7 separate regions of the Homo sapiens genome follow, and regions 1, 2, 3, 4, 5 and 7 are each linked to region 6. Evidence: promoter capture Hi-C in 16 types of primary human blood cells and fetal thymus (Javierre and others, 2016). All regions are on one chromosome and are shown on one strand. The core of a region is centred on a gene start or on the middle of the fragment in contact, and the rest is flanking DNA. Distances in the headings are between cores, read along the strand shown. Region 1 has its middle 150 kb from the start of HEMK2. Region 2 has its middle 34 kb from the start of HEMK2. Region 3 has its middle 5.0 kb from the start of LTN1. Region 4 overlaps HEMK2 (HemK methyltransferase 2, ETF1 glutamine and histone H4 lysine). Region 5 overlaps LTN1 (listerin E3 ubiquitin protein ligase 1). Region 6 holds the start of GABPA (GA binding protein transcription factor subunit alpha). Region 7 has its middle 14 kb from the start of HEMK2.

Region 1 (2,976 bases), core at 41-2,540, 3.0 Mb after region 6:
GGCAGCTAGCCAGTAATATACACAAAGAATGCAAGGATGAGAGGATGACCTACGAAGTAAAGAATCATGTTCAGGGAGAAACACAGGAAGGGGCAGGTTGGGAGCAAACACTGAAAAGCCAATTGCACTGTGTTTTCATTTGTTTGGAGAGGGCATTATGGGAGGGCTGGAGGATTGTTTCTTAGCTTCTTCCAACAACAGTTAGATAATTGCTGCAAGTGGAGAGCTCAGAATAGCAACAATTTGCCGACACATGAGGGCCCCTCTTTACATGTTCATCTTTTTGGTCACCTTCCACTTATGTATGTGTTATTGAAGTAGCAATGGACACTTTGAACTTTCTTTCTCAGAAAGCTATTAGCTTAGCTGGTGTTCTGTATTATTTCCACATTTAAGCAATAAAGCAGTGTTTCTTTGTAAAAATCTGACTTTTTTCAGTTAAGTTTGTTGCCAGATCTCCCAAAAAGACAGCTGAAGTCTATTACATATGTTGATCGCTATTATTGGGAGAAGGTGTTGGCAACCTTTTGAGTGGGCTGTGATGTTGCCAATGTGTTTTTCCAACAAGGTAAGGATGAGACAAGATAAAGGGCAAGGAAGGGGGAAAGGGTGCTGATGTGGACACAGAGAACGTCTCCCTCTTGCTGTCCTCCCTCTGCTTTCCATCAAGGTCAAGTGTCTCTTGTAAACACCGGCAGGGACAGTTCAATCTGCCCATCTCTGACACTTGGGTCTCCCTTTCTGTGACCCGGGAAACAGTCCCACGGAGAAGCCAGGACCCTGGGCCTTCTCCCTGGGGGCTCTTTATGCAGGTCACTGCCCCACTCCCTGAACTCCGAAACAACAGAGCTTACGTCCTAGGAAAACCTCCCAGAGATGGCTCTAGTCCCCAACATTTTTGCAATTGCAACATTTCTTATCCTATAATAATACAAAAACTTCCACATTTAAATGCATTCATTCAACAGAGGCCAACTTCAGCACATGCACTTCTGGGGCACTTGTGTTTACAATGGGGACAAAACAAGACAGTTGGTGTCCGTGGGCAGCTTAATCCTAGTCATTTTAATGCATTTTGCTTTCAATTAGCTTTCTCTGAATAATTCTATGACCACATTGAAATTGTGAGTGACATCCTGAAATATACCTACACTGGATCGTAAACCACAGTGAAAAAAATATATAAATATCGCCCTTTCCAGAAGCTCATGTGTACTTAAAATGAAACCAAAAAAACCTAAATTAGGTATTCACAGATACCCTTTTGAGAAATTCGCGAGAGCAGCAAAAGTACATTGACATGCGTATTTCTGACCCCATTTGATGACCTGAAACATTTCCTCCCTCTTCATTTTCTATTGCTGAACCACAGTATTTTCCTGTTTGGCACAGATCAAGAACACAGGTCTTTCTCTTTTTTCGTTTTTCCCACTGAGGCTATGAAATTGGCCATTCAGTTATTATAGTAAGGATTAGTAAGGACATTTCAAACACAACTAATTAAAGAAGTGTTTTCTGAAATTAAGATATTTTTGTTTAATTACATTAGAAGGAACTAAATATAATATGGTATAGATAAAAATAGACAGAATTACTCAGAACTGAGGGAAAAAATAAGTAGTGAGAAAATGTTAATAAGATCTGAATGCCATCTTCGTGGCATTTTTCCCTAAACTTCATCAGTTGGGAGAAAACTAAATCTTCAATATTAAAAACAAGTCTTATGAGCAAAAATTACTGTCCGGTCACCCTCCAGAGCAGGGTGCTGTCTAAACAGAACTTTCTGTGATGATGGAAATGTTCTCTATCTGTACTGTCCCTATAGCCATTAGCCCTAGGTGCCTATTCAAATTTAAATTAACTAAAATTCAATAAAATTAACAATTCTGTTTTTCAGCGACAGTAGCCACATTTTAAGTGCTCAAAAGCAACACATGGCCAGTGTCTACCATATTGGACAGCACAGTTCTAGAAGCCAGGAAAGAAGGTTAAATACACAGTGAAAATACACACCCAAGGTTTTCCAAACATAAGTAGAAATGGGAAATTTTTCCCGAAAGACCTCTATGGAGCATGAGAAGAAAGGTCTACTTTGTATCATCTGGAGGATTTTTTCCTCTTTCCATCAAGTTTCAGCCAATAATTAAAACAAGTTAGCAATATTTTTCATCCCAACACCTTGTGTAAATTCTTGTCTTCCCCCAAAGAGTTCCCTTGATATGCGTTTTACACACCGTCTATAGAAAAAGCACTTTCCAAACACCCAGTGTATGTTTTTCATGTAAATTCACTTTTCTGATCCTTTTAGTATATTTATAATGGAAATTCTCTCTACTTAAAGCCTATCTATATCTTAGCAACCACAGTTTCCAAAGCTATTCCATGAAGCAGGTTTCTCTATTTACTTTTGTCTATTTGTGTAGCCCAGACCACGCAATAAGATTTTCAAACTGGCCAAAACACATGAACATAGACAAAGTCCTTTATTGTGTGGGTAACCCTTTGGAATGTCTTATTCCCTATGAGAGCTGACATAAAGCAGGAATTCAAATGACAGTGGGTCAAAACCTGAGGGCCAACTGCAGATTTCAGCCTACTTTACAGTCCGTTGGCTATCATAGCTTCCATATGGGCAATAGTGATTGTTTATGAATTAATCCATGCAAAATATATCAAATCTAGTTGGAGAGGATTTTTGTGGGAGAGAAAAGGTACCCTTCCTTCACCAGCCTCGGCTTCATGCTAAAGTATTTCACAACTACAGTGTTTTCATAAGCTTAGAATTCAAATGAGGCCAAAAACTATCAAAAGCAACCTGCTATCTTTACCTGACCCAGAAGTTTACAAGATTGAATTCCTAGAAATTATTGGCTTTATTCTTCTGGAGTCTGCTCAAGTCTAGATAGGCAAGAAAGAACCTAACAGATCAATGCCTCTTAAGGGAATTGATCCCTTCTGCCCAACTTCCTGGGCAGA
Region 2 (2,879 bases), core at 251-2,750, 3.1 Mb after region 6:
AGTTCTCCAAAATTACTTAGACAAAAATAAAGAAATAATAAAGAAGAATGAATAAAACCTCCAACAAATATGGGATTATGTAAAGGGACCAAATCTATGACTCATTGGCATCCCTGAGAAAGAGAGAAAGCAAGCAACTTGGAAAACATATTTGAGGATATCATCCATGAAAATTCTCCTAACCTAACTAGAGAGGAAACATTCAAATTAAGGAAAGGCACAGAACCCCTGTGAGATACTATGCAAGACAATGATCTCCAGGACATGTAGTCACCAAATTCCTCAAGGTCAAAATGAAAGAAAAAATGTTAAAGACAGCTACAGAGAAGGGGCAGGTCACCTACAAAGGAAATCCTGTCAGATGAACAGCCAGCTTTTCAGCAGAAACCCCACAAGCCAGAAGAGACAGAATACCTACATTCAGCATTCTTTTTTTTTTTTTTTTTTTTTTTTTGAGACGGAGTCTCTCTCTGTCGCCCAGGCTGGAGTGCAGTGGCGCAATCTCGGCTCACTGCAAGCTCCACCTCCCAGGCTCACGCCATTCTCCTGCCTCAGCCTCCCGAGTAGCTGGGACTACAGGCGCCCGCCACCACGCCCGGCTAATTTTTTGTATTTTTAGTAGAGACGGGGTTTCACCGTGTTAGCCAGGATGGTCTCGATCTCCTGACCTCGTGATCCGCCTGCCTCGGCCTCCCAAAGTGCTGGGATTACAGGTGTGATCAGCATTCTTATGGAAAAGAAATTCCAACCAAGAATTTTACATGGAGCCAAACTAAGCTTCATAAGTGAAGGGGAAATAAACTCTTTTTCAAATAAGCAAATGCTAAGGTGATTTCTTACCACCAGACCTGCCTTACAAAAGGTCCTTAAGGGAGTGCTAAATATTGGAACAAAAGACCATTACTGGCCACCACAAAAACACACTTAAGTACAGAAACCATTGTGTTAGTCAGGGTTCTCTAGAGGGACAGAACTAATAGGATAGATGTGCATATAAAAGGGAGTTTACTAAGGGGAGTTTATTAACCAGGCCCTTGTCTTCTCTTCCTCTATCGATTGATTATAGTGAACTCCCCAAGAAGCTATCAGTGCAGGCTGGGGAAGAGAAGGGGAGAGAAGGAAGGGTGGCAGGAGTGGAGACCATGGGCATTTGAGCCACTTCCTCCTGTAACTTACTTGTGCCCAGATGCATATATACCACTTCCATCTGATAACGGAATGATGCTGTGCACACCCCACCTATGGCTAGATGGGTCAGAAAACACCCAGTTCTTGATAGGCAGTTCAGGTCGCATGGTGACTTGATGACCCATAATCTAACATTCAGTTTCTACCAAAGCCCAGTAACAGGCCAAGAACTGTTTCTCAAAAGGAGAGTAGTTATCTGCAGAAGATGGCAGGGCCTTACTCCAAATCCTAGAGGCTGCCACTGTGTTTCACCTACAGGGGCCTGCCAAAGGCTCCAAACGGCATCCCTATCTGCCACCGACACCTCAAGCACCATTGGATCTGATGGGTCATATGGCCCAAGTGTAAGAACAGCTTGCACAGCAGCCTGGACCTGTTGCAGAACCTTCTCTTGTTCTGGACCCCACTGAAAAATGGCAGCCTGTCAGGTCACTGGATAAATCGGCCAGAGTAACACACTTAAATGAGGGATGTGTTGCCTTCAAAATCCAAATAGGCCCACTAGGAGTTGTGCCTTTTTCTTGGTTGTCGGAGGGGCCAAATGCAGCAACTTATCTTTTACCTTAGAAGGAATATCTCGACAGGCCCCACATCACTGAACCATTAGAAATTTTGCTGAGGTAGAAAGTCCCTAAATTTTAGTTGGATTTATTTTCCATCCTCTGGCATGCAAATGTCTCACCAATAAGTCCAGTGTGTTCACTACTTCTCACTCACTGGATCCAATCAGTATAATGTCATCAATGTAATAGACCAGTGTTATATCTTATGGAAGGGAAAAGTGATCAAGGTCTCTCCAAATAAGACAATGACACAAAGTCAGAGAGCTAATACACCCTGATGTAGGACAGTAAAGGTATACTGCTAGCCTTGCCAGCTGAAGGGAAATTGCTTCTGGTTGGCCTTATGGACAGGAATGGAGAAAAAGTTATTTGCCAAGTACCTGGTACATACCAGGTACCAGGAGATGTGTTAATTTGCTCAAGCAATGAAACCACATCTGGTACAGCAGCTGCACTTGTAGTCACCTCTTAGTTAAGCTTACGATAATCCACTATCATTGTCCAAGATCCATCTGTCTTCTGTACAGTCCAAACGGGAGAGTTGAAAGGGGATGTGGTGGCGATCACCATCCCTGCATCTTTCAAGTACTTGATGGTGGCACTAATCTCTGCAATCCCTCCAGGGATGAGATATTGTTTTTGATTTACTATTTTTCTAGGTAGAGGCAGCTCTAATGACTTCCATTTGACCTTTTCCACCATAATAGCCCTCACCCTATCAGTCAGGGAGCCAATGTGTGGGTTCTGCCAGCTGCTAAGTATGTCTATGCCAATTATGCATTCTGGCACCGGGGAAGTGACCACAGGATGAGTCCCGGGACACACTGGACCCACTTTAAGTCAGACCTGGGCTAAAACTTCATTAATTACCTGACCTCCATAAGCCCCTACTTTAACTGGAGAACGACAATGACATTTTGTGTCCCCTGGAGTCAATGTCAGCTCAGAGCCAGTGTCCAGTAGTCCCTGAAATGTCTGATCATTTCCATTTCCCCAATCCACAGTTGCCCTGGTAGAAGCTAGAGGTGTCCTTGGGAAATGATTGGAGAAAGAATTAACAGCATAAATTGTCAGTAGTGTAGTGGGGTCCTTACACAAAAAGACCCGACCTCTCCTTCATTCAAGGGG
Region 3 (2,700 bases), core at 59-2,558, 3.3 Mb after region 6:
GAACATTAAAAATAATGTTTAATTTTTGTCAAAATGTTAATGTTTATGTCAAGAAATGTCGGCTGGGTGCAGTGGCTCACGCCTGTAATCCCAATGCTTTGGGAGGCCAAGCCAGGAGGATTACCTCAAGTCAGGAGCTCGAGACCAGCCTGGCCAACATGGTGAAAACTTGTCTCTACCAAAAATACAAAAATTAGCCAGGCGTGGTGGTGCGTGCCTGTAATCCTACATACTCAGGAGTCTGAGACAGGAGAATCACTTGAACCCACGATGCAGAGGTTGCACTGAGCTGAGGTCACACCACTGCACTCCAGCCTGGGCAACAGAGCAAGACTCTGTCTCAAAAGAAAAAAAGAAAAAAGAAATGTCAATACTTTTAAGGCCAAGATTAGAAACTCTTCAGAAACCAGGTTGGGAGTTAAAAAAAAAAAAAAAAAGAGACTTGAAACCCTCCCTTCTTCATTCATAATTATTAATATTATAAATTCTTGTTTTCACAGATTAAGAGTTACACATCAGAATTATAGCCTTTTTTCCCTAAGTAAATATTGGGCATGCCTTACAGAAGTCTGATGTTAAAATAATCTTACCCATCCAGACAAGTTTCTGAGGAGGAAAATCAGACATCAAGCACTTAAAAATATATTTCGGCTGGGCCAGGTGGCTCACACCTGTAATCCCAGCACTTTGGGAGGCCGAGGCGGGTGAATCATGAGGTCAGGAGATCTAGACCATCCTGGCTAACATGGTGAAACCCCATCTCTACTAAAAATACAAAAAATTAGCTGGACATGGTAGTGGGCGCCTGTAGTCCCAGCTACTTGGGAGACTGAGGCAGGAGAATGGCATGAACCCAGGAGGCAGACCTTGCAGTGAGCCGAGATCGTGCCACTGCACTCTAGCCTGGGCAACAGAGCGAGACTCCGTCTCAAAACAAAACAAAACAACTCAGCATTAATTAATCTTTATTAAACTTGGTGGTACTTTACCTTCAACTGTTATTAAGATGTATTTTTTTGGGGGGGGGTACAAATACTTTTTAATGGGTTTAAAGTTTTTCTTTTTCTTTTTAATCTACTGGAAAATCATGCAATGCTGCGAGCATTGGACACAATCCAGGGCCACAAGTCTGCATACTCCTTTGCTACTGGTCCTATAATGGCAGAACCTTTCATTTTGCCTTTATTATTCACTATGACCCCTGCATTATCTTCGGAATAAAGAAACACACCATCTTTTCTCCGGTATGACTTTGGTTGTCTAATGACCGCTGCTGGATGTACCATTTTTCTGAGCTCTGGTTTGCCCTTCTTGACTGTGGCCATCACCATGTCACCCACACTAGCAGCAGAAAGTCTGTTCCGCTGTCCCTTGATCCCCTTCACGGAGATGATATACAGGTTTTTGGCTCCTGTGTTGTCAGCAGTTGATCACAGCTCCTACTGGAAGACCCAAGGAAATCCAGAATTTCACACCAGAGGACCTACCACGTCCTCGCTTTGACATCTTGAACGCTGGAAAGAAGGAAAAAAGTATTTTTAAATTCTTTTTAAGCAAACTTCTTATTTAAATAGCAGCAACACTACATAGGTAATATATGCCAGCAGAGCATTTGTTTGTCAACTGAGATCTGTAGAGAGTCAATTGAGAAAATAAGATATAATAGTTTGCTAACACTACAAAATAAATGTACAATAAGAATAATTTCAGTATATACCAGCTGTAACTCATCACAATTCAACATGAGATTGGGGTGGGGACAAATGTCCAAACTATATCAGAGGGATTTAAAAGAAAAGAAAATAACCATAATAGTACTAGAGGAATATATAGGTGAATTTCCAGTTCAAAATAGCATCTGCTAGCAGCCCCTCTCAAATTCACATACACACAAAAAAATTGATGAAAACATTGAAGACGACAAAAACAACACAACTAAAATTAAAACTGATGAAAAACAGACTTCCGGAATCTAGAAGGAAACTGTAATACTGAGTCTGGACTCAGGAAGTCAAGAAGGCAGGAAGGAGATACAGACACATGTATATATTATTTCCTTACCACATAAAACTGTGTCCTTTCCACGGTGGCTCATGCCTGTAATCCCAGCACTTTGGGAGGCCGAGGCGGGTGGATCACGAGGTCAGGAGATCAAGACCATCCTGGCTAACACGGTGAAACCCCGTCTCTACTAAAAATACAAAAAATTAGCCGGGCGTGGTGGTGGACGCCTGTAGTCCCAGCTACTCCGGAGGCTGAGGCAGAAGAATGGTGTGAACCCGGGAGGTGGAGCTTGCAGTGAGCCGAGATCGCACCACTGCACTCCAGCCTGGGCGACAGAGCGAGACTCCCTCTCAAAAAAACAAACAAACAAAAAAAAACTGTGTCCTTTCTTGCTGGTCTAACCCCTACTCCTATGTGCCCTACAAAGCCCTTTCTTCCCACATATTCTTTGGAATTGCAGCTTCGGTGATGAGCCAATATTCACCCTCAACACGTGTTTACAGTTTGGCTAATGACAGTGCTTCCATAGCAGCCTCTCATGAGTGCTGTTTATTGTCTAAAATCCTACCTACCTCAGGGGTCTGCAGATAAGAATAGGATCTTCTTTGCTTCCACTTTCCTTAAAACAATAAATCATTGTTTTTGGGCTGCTGTCAACAGAATACACCTTCTGACATCTGTCCTCTTACCAGCCTC
Region 4 (2,700 bases), core at 160-2,659, 3.1 Mb after region 6:
AAGTACAACCTTGTCTTAACTTGATTACATCTGCAAAGTCCCTAATTCCAAATAGGAGCATATTCACAGGTTTCAGTTGGACACGAATTTTGTTGGGGGGACACTACTCAATCTAGTACAATCAGCTATTAATGTAGCTGATGCAGGATTTTTTGCTCCTTAGTTCAGTTAAATTTGGGTTATCACATGACCAGAAAAAATTAGGCACGCGTACACACTGAAAGGCGAGGAGGGCAGAATTTATTAGGCAAAAGGAAAGCTCTCCACAAAAAGAGGGGTCCTTCATGCAGGTTTTACACCTCACAAATTGAATGCCAGGCCACCACACACGAGCTGAAGAGGCACGGCTTCTCCCCTGCATAAGGAGCAAACTCCTCGTGGCTCCACCCCATGTGTGGGCGCTTAGTCTGAGCCACATTGATTTATTTCCCTTACTGCACATGTGTTGAGAAATGGAATCTTTCACAGTGGGCATGTTCATTCAGGCAAGCCACGTGTGCACAATGACCTAGGCAAGTCAGAGGCTCTCCAGGAACCCTTCTCTATTTGCCTAGGCTTGTGCCTGTCACCTTTCTCTTTCATAGCTAGCTGTTTTATAGATTGGTCTAATATATCTTTTACCAGTACTACAAGAAAGTGGCTTACATGATTATGGAGGCTAAGAGGTCCCATGATCTGTCATCTATAAGCTGGAGACCCAGGAAGGCCTGTGGTATAATTCAGTCTGAATCCAAAGGCTTGAGAACCAGGGAAGCCAGTGATGTAAATCCATCTGAGGACAGAAGATGAGATGTCACAGCTCAAACAATGAGGCAGGAAAAAAAAGGGGGGGGAATTCTTCCTTCCTCTGCCTTTTATTTTATTTACGCCCTCAACAAACTGGATGATGTCCACCCACCTTGGGGATGGCTATCTCCTTTACTGAGTCCCCCAGTTCAAATGCAAATCTTGTCTGTAAACACACTCAAGACACTTCAGAATAATGTTTAAACAGATATTTGGCACCCTGTGGCCTATTCAAGTTGACATATAAAATTAACCATCACAAGTTTACCCTTGTCAACTTGGCACCCATAAACATCTCTTTAAACCATACTTAACTGCCACATAAAGACAACAACAAGGTCATAATTCCATCTAACACGATTAACAATCCAGCATTCCACCAGAAACACTCTAACCCGTTTCCCAGAAGAGGTGGTAAAGTCTTCATGTGATGTTTACTCTCTCCTTGATATCCCATAACTTAAATACTATGATGTAAAATTAATCAAGGTTGAACACTGGAGCCAGTTAAAAAAATTAACAATATTTAAACACTATGCTATAAAATCAATGCATCTTATGTTACAGAATAAGGAAATGAGAAGAAAACAAAGCTACACACACACAAAATGTAGTTATAGCAAAATATGGAGGACATACTTATGACAATCACAGTCTGTGTTTCTGTAACTGGTCATATGATCAAAGCTAGTATTTATTCCACCATTTATTCTGTATTCCCTTTGCCTTCAGCAAGCACTTCATCTGGTCATGGTACTTACCTGGTGGTGACCCAAACCTTCATTCCTGAAAGGTCTGGATCATTAGTGGTCCTGTCTGAATTAGGCTGTAGTTTTCCATTGACCTTAATCACAGGGCATGATAACACTAAGAGATGCCCTAAGGAATCCTGTGTATTCCCAACATACTTTACCTTACCACCATTCGGGGTAGTCCAGTTTCTACTTGGTAGTCAGGAACAATCACCCAGCCAGCACTGTAACTCATTTGTCTATTGAGTTAGAGGCATAAGAAGCCCCAAATGGCTGAGGAGCAGTCTTAAACTTCCAGTTCAATTAAATCATGATTGCGTCTCTCAGTGGAAAATATTCCACCCTATGTAAGACCTCTAGGCCAGCAGTGCATAAGTCATGGGAACAGGAAGCAAAAATTTTGCTAGTGGGTCACCAGGGCTAATAGCGAATGGTGTCCTTCCTATTCTGACCCCTTGATTCCTGGACCTGTGAATCCCAGTCATAAGAGAAATGCACCATATACTGGATGTTGATTCAGAGCATAGACAGTCTTCTAGAGAACCTTGTCCCAGCCCTACAAGGCACTGCTATATAGCTGGTGTTATTACTGTCTTCAAAATGCCATTCCACTGCTCTATGTAGCCAGTTGATTCAAGATAGTAGGGAACATGGTAAGAAAATTCCATGATCATGGGCCCACTGCCACACTTTTGCTGTGAACTGAGTTTCTTGTAATGCTGTGTGGAATACCATGGTCATAGATGAGACATTCTGTAAGTCCACGGATGGTAGTTTTAGCAGACACCCTGCGCGAAGGGAAAGTGAATCTGTATCCAGAGTAAGATCTATTTCAGTAAGGATAAAACACTATCCCTTCAATGATAGAGGTGGATCAATGTAATGAACCTGCCACTAGGCAACTGACTGATGACCCTGGGGAATGGTGTCATATCAGGGGCTCAGTGTTGGTCTCTGTTGCTGGCAGACTGGGCACTCAGAGATAGCCTTGGCCAGGTCAGCCTTGGTGAGTAGAAGTCCACGTTGCTGAGCCCATGCATAACCTCTATTCTTGTCACCATGGCTACTTTGCTCATGAAACAATTGGGTGATGACAGGTGTGGCTGGAGAAAGAGGCCTACTAGTATCCACAGAACAGGTTATCTTGTCCACTTTATTAAAA
Region 5 (2,700 bases), core at 35-2,534, 3.2 Mb after region 6:
GCTGGGTGTGGTGGCGGGTGCCTGTAATCCCAGCTACTTGGGAGGCTGAGGCAGGAGAATAGCTTGAACCCGGGAGGCAGAGGTTGCAGTGAGCTGAGATTGCGTCATTGTACTCCAGCCTGGGCAACAAAGAGCGAAACTTTGTCTCAAAAAAAAAAGGGATTTTTGCATCCAGACACTGATTAGTTTCTTAGGTATCATACCATGCTAGCAACTGAGAGTATGGAATTTTTACTTATCTGGTCAGAAATACACATCACTCAATTGGTAAATTATAAAAATAAAATTTTTACAAGGAAGGCTTATTACTGTAAATGGCAACAAGACACAATGAGCTTGATCCTACATAATCAGTATGCAAAGAGACTGACGACTTTTACATTATAGATACCTGATCATTGACGAGCATCTGTTCAATCTCTTCCTCACCTAAGTTTTGCTGCATTATAAAACGTAAGCATTCAAAAAAAGCAGATATTACTGCCGAGGACTCTAAAGAGCTGGTTTTAGTTCTCTCTGTTGACAGCCTAAGAAATAATTAATAACTGGATTACTCTTTCATGAAGAAGAAACAAGAACTCAGAATTATCAAAATAAAGACCTCAAAAAGGCATCATGACAGAAGAAACATTTTTAAAGCAGTTTCTTAAACTACAAATTAAATACCAATGAAAATACATATAGCCCAATGAGAATATGAACTTAAAAACTTTGAAAAAGTTTTTCAAAAAATGTATCAGTAAAAAATAAAAATAAGAGAATATTTCCTTTTTCTTTTTCTTCTTTTTTTTTAGAAATAGGGTCTTACTATCTTGACCAGGCTGGTCTTGAACTCCTGGCCTCAAGCAATCCTCCCACTTTGGCCTGTGCTAGGATTACAGCTGTGAGGCACCACGCCTAGCCGAGATATTAATTTTCTATTCATGGACCAATCCACCTGCAAATTCGAGATAACTTATTAACCAAATAAAGATAATGGTGTAGTAAAAAAAATCTGTAATCATTAATAAAATGATGTATCTTCTAAGTTCAACAAATGTACTGAAACAGTTTTTTTAAGTGTGAATTTAAACATCTATAGTAGTTAAAGTTGTTGATGTTTTAAAAATTTCACTGGCTAATTTTCTGCATTTAGGCATTTGTATTTATCAACATAAAAAATAAAAAATGGCTACATGTGTCTGTGGTGCAATTGGTTAGCACATTCTGCTGTTAAAAAAATGGCTAATTTGAAAAATAGCCTAGTTGACCTATTTCCAACAAGGAGCTTTACCTTATTTATCTAACTTCCTGCTGTGTGCTACCACTGAAGTCTTGAACGTACTCAAGAAAAAAATATCAATTGTAATTCTCTGAAAACTTTAAAAGTATTTAATGAATAGTAAAACAACTTGGAGAAATTTAAGTAAGAAAGAAAATGAGTATAAAAACAAGAAAATCTGTTTTGTTTTAAAAATCAAAAATTTAAATTACTTACCCAGCAACTAGAGACGTGAGGAAATTTTTGAAGAAATCCAACTTTGGATTTGTGATGGACTGAGGGAGCTTGCTGATGAATGGCAGAAGGTAAGGATATATGACAGTAGCTAGACCCCGACCACCTTCACGAATCACAGTTGATAGCTTGGGAAACACACTCTTTTTTGCATTTACATGAAGCCAACAGTCCTAACCAAACAAAAGATTATAGTAGTAATTAGAGATCATAAACATACTTTTCTCAATTAAAAGAGAAAACATATAGGCTCTCAAAAAGAAAAACCAAGTATTTTACCTAAAAAAAGCTAAAATCTTTCACCACCATTAAAAACTAAAACTGAAATTATAAATGTATTACATATAATGATCATATATTCGACATGCTTACAATAAAGTATTGATTAGAAATAATTATTTAACTTCTATTTCTATAAAAGCTGCTTTCTAAAAGGGACAATTATATTTCAATCTTAATTATATTTCATCTTAAATATAAAATTCAGTTATGGTGACTGCACTAGGACACATAAGGTTTAAAGAATAATTAATACTGGCAAAACAAAATAAAATAAAAACTCTATGCCATTTTAGTCACTTTAAGATTTATGCCAAGTTTAGATTATTTTATTTCCAAGAAAGCATTTTCCCAGTAAGTTTTGGATATTCTTATCTCATAGGTTCATTCCTCAGTGTACTAAATGTGCCTCTCTTACATACCTCAATAGTTGTAAGTGTATAGAGTACAGCTTCCCAGAGAGCTGGGCAGACAATTGGGTCACTGTCATCAATGCTAAGTAGAACTGATGGGCTCACTTTGGATGCTTCCTCTTTCATCAACTGTGGAATGCGCTGGCACAATGCAGAGACTAACTCAAAATAAGCTGAGCGAATCTAAAAGAATGCAAAGCTGAATTAAATTAAAACCTAGTAAAACTTGATAAGATTTTTAATTTATGGTAATAGTAGATTATTCACACTAACCCTCCCACTAAGAAAACTAAAATAGCTAGAAAAAATACTTTTTAAAATCTTAGAGTATGAAATGGCTGAAAAGGCATAAGGAATTACCAAGGCAAAAGTGAAGGCTGAAAGAATTAATTCAACTTTCTCTTTCTTTGACTGAAGCAAACACAAATCCTCTTTAGTAGCAGAAGCCTTCATTTGGGGCCTCCATTATAGCCAAACAAACAGAAAATAAGACACCATGAGCAACAATCAGGA
Region 6 (2,700 bases), core at 33-2,532:
TGTGCAAAGTACTTCCATATATATCCTTTCCTTGTACCCTTACAGCAATACTCTCAAAGAGTTAAAGTGTTCTTATCCCTGCTTTACAGATGATAAAACTGTATCTAAGAAAGATTAAGCTGCACGTATTCTCACAGTTAATTTGCTCTAAGTCTGACTGCATAGATGTTACTCCTTCTGCAACACGGGTAAAATCCACTTTCATTGTTTCAATTATCCACCATGTAAGTGCCTATGATTCCCCAATCGCATTTCTAATTTTAGTATTCATCCTGAGCCCCAAATCTATCCACAGCATTCAACAGTTCTCATCTCCCTTATAAGTCCTACGAACTCATCCAAAAAACGAACACATAATCCCATATCAAAACTTGTTCCTTCTCCTTTAATCCCTTTCATTTTTTTTCACTGATTAGTGAATGCATATTGTCCACTAAAACGCAGAAGATAGTCATTACACAAATAGCTGTGAAATACCACCTGACATAAATTCTCTATTCCAGTACCATCGGGTGCCACGAGAGCATATGATAGCGTCTGACATGATCAGAAAGACTGGGGAAGGCAACAGTAAGAAAACACTAGTCTGAGCAGAGGCCTTGTTCTGGGTGGGAGCATGGTTCTATTTATAGTGATGACTGACCGGCCAAAGGTTAGTAGGTTCGCTGCCTCTTCAGTGCATATTCCTATGAACAATCCATAAAGTCGCCTAATGAAGTGTTAGCACCATCGTTTTTAGGTGGGATGCAAACTTTCAATATTATGACTAATTTTTTCCCTCTTAATGGTACACGTTCTGCCTAAGTAGCCTAGACGCTCCCGTGCGCCCGGGGCGGGTAGGCCTGGCCGAAAATCTCTCCCGCGCGCCTGACCTTGGGTTGCCCCAGCCAGGCTGCGGGCCCGAGACCCCCGGGCCTCCCTGCCCCCCGCGCCGCCCCGATTTGCCCTCAGAGAGGGTATCGATCTTATTTCTGGGTCTACGGCAAACTCCAAGGTCTACAAACGTAGAGGTCAGCTGTGACCCCGGGCCAGGCCGTGAAGGTCCCCAGGACACAGAGCTGCTCTCTCCTCCTAGTAAAGGTGAGAGGCAGCCCAGGCCTCGTGAAAAAACCCAGAACTGGAGTCCCAAAAGGCCACGCTGATCTAGCTACCCTCCCAGTCACCTTGCACTCAGTCCCGAGCTGCCAAAGCCTCCGCCGCCACCACCTCCGCTCTACTTCCGGCCCTGGCTCCGCCCCCACACGCCTACCCGCCATCGCAATGCATTATGGGCCGCCGTTTCAGTCGGTCGACGCTCACCGGACAGGAAGCGTCTCGGAGACAGTCTGCGACCGGACGGGTCTAGGTGAGACAGAAGCCAAACAGGAGGAGGAAGTGGAGGGTAAGTGCTTCCGGGTCCCCTGGCACAGCCTCCGCCATCTTTTCTTCGCCTAATTTGACCCGTTCTTTTTCCCCTCCTTGAAACCTTGCTCTGTACGCATGCGCTCTTTGAGTGGCCTTTCCCCTAGTTCAAGCTCCCCTCCGAGTCAGCGTCCTGTTCGTTAGGGTTATCGAAGTGTATAAAGGTGCAGGGAAAGTGAGACTGTGTAAAACAAAGCGGATTGGGGCGTTGTGCTTCCTTGTACCTCGTGAGCCTCCGTTGCCTTGGGCGGTCGTTTTGCGCACCCTGCCGGGAGTTGTAGTCCTGGACCCGAAGGTGCCTGGGAGGCGGGAGGGGGGTTGGGGCTTCTCAGCGCCGATTCCGCGGGAAGGGCCCTGGGACCTCACACTTCTAGTCGCGGGAGCTGCAGGTCTTACCCGGAGAGACGCTGCACGTGGAGCCCTCGCCGCTGCCGTTCTCAGCCGGCTCTGGAGTGCGGGCGGGGGCGACAGGGCCGATTCCGGAGTGGGTGAGTGCGGCCGCCGGGGAGGAGGGGAGCGCGGGCCCTCGCGGGCCGGCCTCGTTCCGGGGCCTTTTCCCCCACAAGGGCCCCCCCGCGGCCGCCTCTGTGTTTTGTTTCCGCTGGTCCCCGGCGCTGTGACTCCCATTTCCGTTCGTGGAGACTTGAGGGAGCCGGGTGGGGAGGGGCGGGAGAGCTGTGCGGGGAGCGAAGGGGAGGGGCGGGGGGCGAGCGGCCTGGAGCCCGGGGGGACCGGGCACCGCCGGGACCCGTGCCGGACGGGTCGCCTGTCGCCGCTCCCTCCTTTCCGCGTCCCCTCCTCGCCCGTCCGCACTCCTCAGCAGTCTCAGCCTGCTCAGCTGGGATGTGGTCCTGACGCCCCCGAGATTTTAAGAGCAAAATGCAGACCCTGTCTCATCGCGGGACTCAGCGATTCACTCATTTCAAATCCGCTCTCTTTATAGAACAACACACACCAGAATCATTTATCAGCGTATATGGTAGCCATCTGGGTTTGTTTTTTTGTTTTTAAGCAAGGAAGTAAACCAAGGAGATAACAATGGGTTGTCTACTTGGAAATTTTTTTGTGTACTAGAAGACACGCTGTATGTGCGTGTTTGGATTTAGGGACCCCAGTTTGATCAGGTTAGCGGACCGAGAGGACAATGCCTAATATTGCATTGCAAGATGATTAGAAATTTAGAAATAAAATTCATTTCATAAGTAGTTTCCACTAATAGCAGTAGGTCTGACTCGTGAGAAGAGCAAAGATTTAGCAGGATTCACTTGAGCGAATTGTAGAACGAGGCGGTGATAACAT
Region 7 (2,858 bases), core at 271-2,770, 3.2 Mb after region 6:
AGAGTGGCAGCCTTCACAAAGTAAAAACAACTTCGTTCCACAGAATTGTATGTTCTGTAGGCATATGGTCAATTCTTTTCCGAGTCCTTTTGTCTTGCACTATCAAAATAAAAGAATCTTTGTCTTGGAGCAAGTCTGCTAAAGAAGGCACCAAAATTCTATCCTCCCTATTCCCCTAAATAATATTAATAAACCTCTTATCAATCCTTTCAAGGTAACTTCAACGCCATTAAGAATTAATATTCTAAATATGTAAAGCTATAGAAGGAAGGTCCTGCCTATTCTCTTTGCCCCTCTCAAATCATTCTAGTCTGGTTTACCAAACAGAACCACTAGCTAAGAGGATAGAAATATGTTCCCGTGTTCACTAGCCATTAAATAAACATAGCCACTTGTGCAGGAAGCCTAACGTTTTTACTACTTCCTAACTTTTTAAAACTTAAGGATAAGCCCATTTCCACAAGCTAACTTTACAGCTCCTTAATATTCTTAATCTGGATGGTTTACTTTGCAGACTTTGTTGGTGTCTGCCTTTTTCAATTATTTTACCCAAAAATAGGCCTTGAAAAAACTTTCAAATTCAGGAAACCCCTGCAGGGAACCCTCATGGTGTGTGAGTGTGAGCACTAAGTTGAAGAATACTCTTATTTCACAGAAATGTAGGACTGTCAGACTAGGGCTGAGTTCATTCTCTTCCTTCAGAGACAAAATTTCAAGCTGAGCAGATTTGGAGAAAGGGTTCCCCATACAGTCATATACTAGTGCTGGGAAAAGGAGAGAAAATACTACTTAATTGTGTTTTGTGGTTCCTCCAGGTGGGTTATAGCAAGATTTGAGAGTTGTACTCTTCATTTTCAAGTCCAAGTGGCTGCAGAAACATTTCAATAATTCCCCTGGCAAGGTAGCAAATCAGTTTCCTTTTTGATCTAAGACTCTTGTCACTTTAAGAAAAAAAATTTTCTCCAGGACCTTTCAGAGACTTGTTCATTTGTTCATGTGATGAAAATCGTCTGCTAAATCGGCTAGTTTCTGTAGCTATTTTTCATTTCCAAAGCATTCAGCAAAAGCTGGCTATTTTCTTGTAAGTACTCTGGCAATTCACCTTTCAACTCAAAAGTCCTGTAGAGAACTCTTCCTCTGAAAAGCCACTGGATATCTGTATGGTACAGGAGGTTTATGCGCTGTTTGTCCAGGTTTTTGTTTTGGGTGTTTTTATTTTTTTAACATTTTTGCATAAATGGGTCTTTGATACAGGTAACCAGTTTTGTAGCATTATTCAGAATGTCATTGTATCTTCAAGTTTTTGATATCAGCATCTCTGTGAAGAAAGCAGTGTGCTATAGCGTCAACATCAGGATTTCTTTCTTCTTTTTTTTAATGATGCAAAATGACTTATGGAGACAACCACTGATGGGGCACCAGGAGTGTAGATAACAGACCTCTGGTTATCAGATATGATATCACAACATTGTATATTGGCCTTTGTTTTGGCAGGCTCCTAGCAATAGAAAAAGTTTTCTTTGAATTTCATCACTTACAAATCTTACAAATGCTACAGCATGACAAATATTAGTGAAACCCGTTGACTCATCATCCTGGATAGAGAAGCTGCTGCTTTTCTCTTTTTTTGAGACGGAGTCTTGCTCTGTCATCAGGCTGGAGCACAGTGGCGTATCTCAGCTCACTGCAACCTCCGCCTCCTGGGTTCAAGCAGTTCTCCTGCCTCAGCCTCCCGAGTAGGTGCGACTACAGGCACACGCCACCACGCCCAGCTAATTTTTGTATTTTTAGTAGAGACAGGGTTTCACCATGTTGGCCAGGATGGTCTCCATCTCTTGACCTTGTGATCCTCCTGCCTCGGCCTCCCAAATTGCTGGGATTACAGGCGTGAGCCACTGCACCCGGCCTGAAGTTGCTGCTCTTCAGTTAATGACACAAAACCTTTGTAGCATCGTATGAGATATCATCAGTAAATCAACTTACTGAGAATAAAGTCTTTTCAATTTTGTACTGCATCCTGCCCCAGCATTTTAATGTTATTAGATTCTCATCAACTATGCATATTTTTCTTTCCTGAGATAAGTTCTGCTAGTAAATAATTTGCTTTCAAAACATTTTGACTAAACGTGATTTTTGAACAGAAGCCGTACTGTTTTGATGGTCCAAAAGCCAACTGAAGATAATGAATATCCTTTCTTGTCAAGTGCCTGTGATTTATAGTTACAATTTTTAGTTTTGTAAGTTGCATGCCACAGACAATGCACAGTGGGACAGGACAGCTTGGACTGAGTCCATATTAAACCCTTAAGGAGCAGCTTTCATTATAAAGACAGAATCTCTTTGTGTCCCTTGTTGTACTAGAATACTGAAGTATACTCAGAAGACCAAAATTCTTCATCACCAACCTTTTCAGAAATGTCTGTAGCTCTGTGCCTAAAATGCCTCTCTTCTTTCTCACATCTTACCTTCCAAAATTGCAGCACTGAACTGTCAGCTTTGTTACACACAAATGTTAATATAATATAAAAACAGGCCAGGCGTGGTGGCTCACGCCTGTAATCCCAGCACTTTGGGAGGCCGAGGCAGGTGGATCACGAGGTCAGATCGAGACCATCCTAGCCAACACGGTGAAACCCCGTCTCTACTAAAAAAAAAAAGCAAAAAATTAGCCGGGCGCGGTGGCGGGCGCCTGTAGTCCCAGCTACTCGGGAGGCTGAGGCAGGAGAATGGCGTGAACCCGGGAGGCGGAGCTTGCAGTGAGCCGAGATCGTGCCACTGCACTCCAGCCTGAGTGACAGAGCGAGACTCTGTCTCAAGAAAAAAAAGAAAAGAAAAGAAAAAATATATATATATATATG

What was found. Contacts are between HindIII fragments. The CHiCAGO score rates a contact against its expected background, and 5 or more counts as called.
Region 1: a fragment that was not itself captured here is called in contact with the fragment with the promoter of GABPA in region 6 in 1 of 17 cell types (naive CD8 T cells); the score reaches 5.1 in naive CD8 T cells.
Region 2: a fragment that was not itself captured here is called in contact with the fragment with the promoter of GABPA in region 6 in 2 of 17 cell types (non-activated CD4 T cells and total CD4 T cells); the score reaches 10.6 in non-activated CD4 T cells.
Region 3: a contact is called between a fragment that was not itself captured here and the fragment with the promoter of GABPA in region 6, in 13 of 17 cell types (non-activated CD4 T cells, total CD4 T cells, total CD8 T cells and 10 more). The highest score is 28.9, in non-activated CD4 T cells.
Region 4: a contact is called between a fragment that was not itself captured here and the fragment with the promoter of GABPA in region 6, in 2 of 17 cell types (total CD4 T cells and naive CD8 T cells). The highest score is 5.3, in total CD4 T cells.
Region 5: a fragment that was not itself captured here is called in contact with the fragment with the promoter of GABPA in region 6 in 9 of 17 cell types (total CD4 T cells, non-activated CD4 T cells, naive CD8 T cells and 6 more); the score reaches 16.8 in total CD4 T cells.
Region 7: a fragment that was not itself captured here is called in contact with the fragment with the promoter of GABPA in region 6 in 2 of 17 cell types (non-activated CD4 T cells and naive CD4 T cells); the score reaches 6.1 in non-activated CD4 T cells.

Annotation. Positions count from the first base shown.
Region 1 is chr21:28,737,854-28,740,829 of GRCh38, forward strand. It overlaps a transcript of HEMK2 not described here. Among named protein-coding and RNA genes, the nearest start is that of HEMK2, 150 kb to the right of the region's middle. The HindIII fragment of the contact is 2,967 bases long and covers 1-2,774 here.
Region 2 is chr21:28,849,789-28,852,667 of GRCh38, forward strand. It overlaps a transcript of HEMK2 not described here. Among named protein-coding and RNA genes, the nearest start is that of HEMK2, 34 kb to the right of the region's middle. The HindIII fragment of the contact is 1,451 bases long and covers 776-2,226 here.
Region 3 is chr21:28,996,528-28,999,227 of GRCh38, forward strand. It overlaps the pseudogene RPL23P2. Among named protein-coding and RNA genes, the nearest start is that of LTN1, 5.0 kb to the left of the region's middle. The HindIII fragment of the contact is 3,937 bases long and covers 1-2,700 here.
Region 4 is chr21:28,871,968-28,874,667 of GRCh38, forward strand. HEMK2 (HemK methyltransferase 2, ETF1 glutamine and histone H4 lysine) reads right to left here. Exons shown (of 6, transcript NM_013240.6): 6 at 224-2,700. Among named protein-coding and RNA genes, the nearest start is that of HEMK2, 12 kb to the right of the region's middle. The HindIII fragment of the contact is 4,164 bases long and covers 1-2,700 here.
Region 5 is chr21:28,969,075-28,971,774 of GRCh38, forward strand. It overlaps LTN1 (listerin E3 ubiquitin protein ligase 1), which reads right to left. Exons shown (of 30, transcript NM_015565.3): 7 at 2,197-2,370; 8 at 1,478-1,668; 9 at 392-527. Among named protein-coding and RNA genes, the nearest start is that of LTN1, 22 kb to the right of the region's middle. The HindIII fragment of the contact is 7,647 bases long and covers 1-2,700 here.
Region 6 is chr21:25,733,690-25,736,389 of GRCh38, forward strand. It overlaps GABPA (GA binding protein transcription factor subunit alpha), which reads left to right and starts at 1,283. Exons shown (of 10, transcript NM_002040.4): 1 at 1,283-1,889. ATP5PF (ATP synthase peripheral stalk subunit F6) reads right to left here and starts at 1,215. Exons shown (of 4, transcript NM_001003703.2): 1 at 1,164-1,215. RefSeq lists enhancers at 637-716, 1,035-1,690, 1,117-1,226, 1,247-1,366 and silencers at 827-926, 1,867-2,006, 2,067-2,276. The HindIII fragment of the contact is 6,464 bases long and covers 1-2,700 here.
Region 7 is chr21:28,898,417-28,901,274 of GRCh38, forward strand. No RefSeq gene overlaps it. Among named protein-coding and RNA genes, the nearest start is that of HEMK2, 14 kb to the left of the region's middle. The HindIII fragment of the contact is 5,486 bases long and covers 1-2,858 here.